2 separate regions of the Homo sapiens genome follow, and region 2 is linked to region 1. The links are contacts of gene promoters, found by promoter capture Hi-C in blood cells and fetal thymus (Javierre and others, 2016). All regions are on one chromosome and are shown on one strand. Each heading gives the region's core, a stretch centred on a gene start or on the middle of the fragment in contact. The rest is flanking DNA. Distances are from core to core; before and after follow the strand shown. Region 1 holds the start of BMP8B (bone morphogenetic protein 8b). Region 2 has its middle 2.0 kb from the start of NT5C1A.

What was found. Contacts are between HindIII fragments. The CHiCAGO score rates a contact against its expected background, and 5 or more counts as called.
Region 2: a fragment that was not itself captured here is called in contact with the fragment with the promoter of BMP8B in region 1 in 1 of 17 cell types (megakaryocytes); the score reaches 5.7 in megakaryocytes.

The regions. Positions count from the first base shown.
Region 1 is chr1:39,787,499-39,790,198 of GRCh38, forward strand. BMP8B (bone morphogenetic protein 8b) reads right to left here and starts at 1,367. Exons shown (of 7, transcript NM_001720.5): 1 at 654-1,367. The coding sequence starts at 987. It overlaps LOC101929536 (a long non-coding RNA gene), which reads left to right and starts at 1,478. Exons shown (of 1, transcript NR_135805.1): 1 at 1,478-2,673. RefSeq lists a silencer at 1,319-1,918 and an enhancer at 1,473-1,974. The HindIII fragment of the contact is 19,151 bases long and covers 1-2,700 here.
Region 2 is chr1:39,672,754-39,675,453 of GRCh38, forward strand. No RefSeq gene overlaps it. Among named protein-coding and RNA genes, the nearest start is that of NT5C1A, 2.0 kb to the left of the region's middle. The HindIII fragment of the contact is 1,373 bases long and covers 680-2,052 here.

The DNA.
Region 1 (2,700 bases), core at 117-2,616:
GAACAAAGTGGGTCCAGCTGCCCACTGGACCATTCCACAGGACTGGACACTCACCCCATACCAGATCACATCCCAGGTGTTGGGCCCAGGGTGACAAGGCAACAGTCCCTGCCCCAGCGAGCTGAGTTTGCTCCTTCCCCAGCCGCCCCCCTGACAGCCGCACCCCACCCAGGCTCCGCACAGAGAAGAGCCTGCTGTGGACTCAGGGCACGCGACTCAGCTCTGGTCACTCCGATGTGACCACAGGTTTCCACGCTGAACTTTGTCCCTCTCCTCAGTACTGCCCTTATCACAGTGACAGCATCCCGGCCTCTGTTTACTCACCTGTCTCCCCAGGACCAGGCTGTCTTCCCGGGGCAGCCCAGGTGGGCAAAGACATCACCTGATTCTTACTCCTGGGTGTGTTTGGGGCAGGGTGAAGGCAGCGCCTGGGAGTCCACAGTCCCCCACACTCTGCTCCTGACCACCCCGCAGCCCAGGGGGCCCCCATGACCCTTAGACCTTCCCTAACCACGGCGGTCCCACTCCCCTGTGGTTCGCGTCCACCGTCTGTGACTCCCCGTTCGGCCAGGGCCCGGCACAGCCCGCGGATGCGCGCCCCTCCCCTGCAGCCAGCTTACTCCGAGGGTCCCCGCGCGGGCGGCCGCACTCACCCATGTTAACGAAGCTCATGACCAGGTCGGCGCGGCCCAGGCGCCGCTCCGCGGGCGCGCCGTCCTCGTCGTCGTCGCCGGCCATGGCGTGGTACAGGTCCAGCATGAAGAGCGGCGCGGACGCGGGCAGCCGGGAGGCGGCGGGTGGCGCGCGGGGCCGGGGCCGCCCAGGCAGCCCGAGCACCGCCAGGATCTCGCGCTGCACGTCCCGGCGCTCGCGCGCGCCCAGACGTCGCTGGGGACAGCCGGGCGGGGGTCGCAGGCCGGGGCCGCCCCCGCCCAGCGCGCATAGCGCCAGGCCCAGGAGCCAGAGCGGGCCGGGGAGCGCGGTCATGGCAGGCCGGGGGCGCTCAGCTGGGGCGCTCAGCGGGCGCGCATCGGCTCCGCGGCCGACCCAGGGCCTGGGGACGCCCCGACGGCAAGGAGGCTGGGCTCGGCGGGCGGCGGGCGGCGGGGCGGGGCGGGACGGGCGGCGACCGCGGCCTCAGCGCGGTCCCTGGAGCGCCCGCCGCGCGACACCTGTCCTGGCTCCTGGACGAGAGGACGCGGACGCCACCGCCTCGAGGCCGGGGCTACTCTGCGGACTGGGACTCTCGGCCAATCCGTCTGTCGCCGCCGTACCCGCCAGTCCGGCTGTGGCCGCGGTCCGAGCAGCGCAGGGGCGATGGGCGAGCTCCTGCAGCCACCCGCTTGGTGCGGTTCCCGCGAGTCCCTGCCCTGCCCTGCCCAGCGGTCCGCGTCGCCCGCCCCCACCCCGGGACTGACCAATGGGGGGGCGGGGGCGGGGCCTGGGAGCGGGGGCCACGCCTGCGAGGGGGCCCGGGGCTGCGGCCGGTGTCGCGGGTGGGGAGACCCCGAGGTGCTACCTGGGCGTGGCGGGTGGGCAGGCGGCCCGGGCGAGGGGCTCGCAGCCTGGGCGTCAGCGTGGTCATGGCCGTCGTGGCTTCCGCCGCGGGCCTCGGCGCAGAGATCCTAGGGCCGCGGCGCCCTTCCGGTCCCGCCAGTGGTGCCACCCGGCCGCCCCGCCGTCGCGTGCGCGGGTCGCCATGGCATGCTGCAGGCGCCTCCTTCCCGGCACCTGCTCAGCTGCTCCTCCCCGCGCCCCCACCTGGCTCCCGCGTGAGCCTGGGCAGCGCCCCAGGCAGGCCGCCCCCGCCAGCCCTCGCTGCGCGGCGTGCGCCCCCTGCGCCCCCAGTACTGATCCAGCTTCGCGGGGGAGACGCGCACCCGCCTCCTGCCTTTAGCCGGGCCAGGAGCTCTGGGGCCCTTCTGGAGCACCCGGGAGCCACCTGTGCACTTCTCAGTCGCCACGGCCCCGGTGCAGGCCTGGCAGGAGAAGGATCCCCGCGGAAATGCCTCTACTAACTCAGCCCCTTTCTGCACTCTCTGCTCTTCTCTGGGCGCGCTCTCGCCTTACTTATTCCTGTGTGGTTCAGGCGCTGCGGAAGGAGAAGGCACCTAGACTGTACTGGGAAGGCTCCTGGAGTTGACCTGGAGCGCCAGGAAAGGTCAGTGGAGGAAAGTGCTCCAAGCAGAGGGAAGAGCTTGTGCCAAGGCCCTGAGACCCCGGCGGGGGAGCCTAATAATGGCAGGTAACAGTCAGCACTTGCCACGCGCGAGGCATGTTCTCAGTGTGTGTCTTGTGTCATTTCTGTGATGCTTGCACATCGTCAGGGGGTACCTACCACTGGAACCTCCTCTTTTAACAAATGAGGAAACTGAGGCACACAGCGGTTAAGGGACTTACGCTAGGTCACACAGCAGTAGAGCTGGGCTGGGGCAGGGGGCAGCTCCTCAAGTGGAACCTGGAGAGCCCACGGGGCAAATGGCGGAGGCTGGAGGGGCTGGCAAGGGAGGGACTGCAAAGGGCCTCACAGGGGCTAGACGAGGGCCCTGGGCACCAGTGATTATGGTGCCCCCCCATGTGGATTGAAGATTAAACCTCGAAGCAAGTGTATAATGCCCCCAAAAATCACATTTAGAAGTCATCACTTCAATAAAAATTTCTATATTAAATAAATTATTAATGTAAATGGTCATTTGCTGG
Region 2 (2,700 bases), core at 116-2,615, 110 kb before region 1:
GGCCTGGGGTGGGGACCCAGGCCAGAGAGACTCCCAGGGACTCTGAACCCGAATTCTTGCTGGCCCTTTGGTGGTCAGCAGAGGGCGCGCATTCCTAGGCCCCCACCTGCCCAGCTTGGGGTGATTTGTTATAGGCCATGAAGGGGCTGGATAGAGGGAGGGCAGAAGAGGGGCCTCGGAACTACCATCCTGGAATTCCAGGGTGTTGTCCCTCTTGATGCAGAGCTCTGTACTAGTCTCAGGGTGCAGACACAAATGTCACCCATCCCAAGGTACAGGCCAGGAAGCAGACAGCCTCTCTCAGAGGTGTGCATGGGTGGGTGGGAGAAGCAGGAGAAAACACTGGCTTAGCTAGGAGGGCCTCTGACTGGGGAGGTGAGGGGGCTACAGAATGGAGTGATCCCCTCAGCCTCCACCAGGTCCTGGGAGGAATAAACCAACCCTTGTGTGGGAGGAAGGGAAAAATCATAATAAAATGTTAGGATTGGGGGAAGTGTGTTTAGACTTACTTCTAGAAGATTGTTTCCAGAGATGGCCCAAAAACCTCTTCCATCCTGCCTGTCCTTTGGAAATGTGACTTTGACATTCCTCCCATTCAGAGGTGGAGTCCAGTCTGAGCTGGCCCTGTGACTTGCTTTGACCAATTGAATGGAGTAGAAGTGGTGCTCTGTGGTTTCCAAGCTTACGTCTTAAGAGGCCTTGCAGATTCCATTTTTGCCCTCTTGGGAGCCAGCTACTATGTAAATAAGTCTGGACTATCCTGCTGGAAAGGCCACGTAGTGAGACAGATAGGACCTGGAGGATAAGAAGCTAGCGACAGCCCAGGTGACTATAGGCACAATTGACAGACATGTGAATGAGGCCATCCTGGCTGTCCCAGCCCCAGCTCAGCTCCCAGTGGAGTGCAGCTATGTGGGTGACGCCAGCCAACACAACCTGAAGCAGTAAAACCTTCCAGCTGAGCCCAGCCAACTCACAGAATCATCAAAAATAATAAATTGTTGTTTCAGGCACCAAGTTTTGGGGTAGCTTGTTACACTGCAATAAATAATTGAAACTCTAGGAATGAGGTCAATTATTCTCAGGTGCCTCATGGAGAAGAATGATGAAGTAACTCAGGAAGAATACATAGAGTGGTTACTTGGATGGAGGTGGGCACTTCACACAAAAGTGAGCCACCCCCATGCTGTCCAGCGGCCTTTAATCTGTGTGATTGGCTTGAAAAGATGACCTGGGCCAAGCAGATTTGTCTTTCTCAGGAATTTGGAATTGGGAAATGGGCTGGGCAGTCAACCATTGGAATAGAAGCTGAGGATGCTGTGAAATACAGTTGGCTCCGAAGAGACCTGGGTGAGCCTCAGCAGACTGCAGTTATATGCAAAGTAAAGCTCGGCGCAGGTGGAGACTCTCTGAGCAGAATGAGATGAGCAGCAGATCAAGATGGGAAAGGATGTGCAGAGAGCAGCACATGAGAGAAACCATGCTGCCCTGAGATGGAGCCGCCTCTGCTCCTGACAGTTTCCCAAGTTCTAGCTAAGGCCTGGCTCTGGTGCCCATCTCTACACTTTCATGAGATTCTCCACATTGTTTCAACAAATGCCCCCAAAAGGAAATTTGGTGGATTGTGGTTTTGCTTGAGTGGCCACTTTTCCCGGCCTCTCTTTCTAATAAAAAGCCCTGCCTCCCTGGTTTTCTGGTCAAGAAGTACCAGACCTGGTACAGAGACCTGTAACTGAGACCTGACCAATGGCGGAGCCCTGTGTCCCTGGACACAAGGATGAGCATGTGACCCCAGCTGAGACACTCTTCACTCTTATTTAGGGCTTCTGGGAGATTTGGCTCTTTTTCTCTGAGGTTGTTAATTTGGGGCAATGTGAGCTGGGAACCCATTTGGCAGGTGAAAGAACATGGAAGAAGCACATCTGGAAGGACAATGGTGCCACAGAGAGAGAAGCAGAAGGAGGGAGGGAGAGAGGATGCAACTGAGTTTCTGGACCCAGCCATGCCTGAACTTCCCAATTACATGAGCCAATAAGCCTCCCTTTTTGCTTAAGCTTGTGTGAGTTGGATTTCGTTCACTTGCAACCAAAAGTCCCAACTAATCCATTCCCCTTTACTCACCCTGCCATGAGTAGGCACTGTTCCTTGCCATCAAGGAATCCTGCCCAGACTCCTGGTTCAGTCCCTTTAAGAACTTTCCCCGGGCCGGGTGCGGTGGCTCATGCCTGTAATCCTAGCACTTTGGGAGGCCGAGGTGGGTGGATCACAAGGTCAGGAGTTCAAGACCAGCCTGACCAACATGGTGAAACTCCATCTCTACTAAAAATACAAAAATTAAAACTGGGTGTGGTGGGGTGCGCCTGTAATCCCAGCTACTCAGGAGGCTGAGGCAGGAGAATTGCCTGAACCCGGGAGGCAGAGGTTGCAGTGAGCCGAGATCATCGTGCCACTGCGTGCCAGCCTGGGTGACAGAGCGAGACTCTGTCTTAAAAAAAAAAAAGAACTTTCCCCAGATCCTTCTTTGGAAGGATTAGAGAACTTGATCCTTAACTGTTCTTTCCACCCTTCCAGGCTTCTGGCCATGCTCTCTGGCTTGCCTGTCACTTGCTAATAGCTGGCTGGGTGCAGGGCTTCCCTGGCTCAGGGTTTCTGGACTCCAGCCAGGACTTTGCCTCCAGGTCCAGCACTTCTTCAGATGAA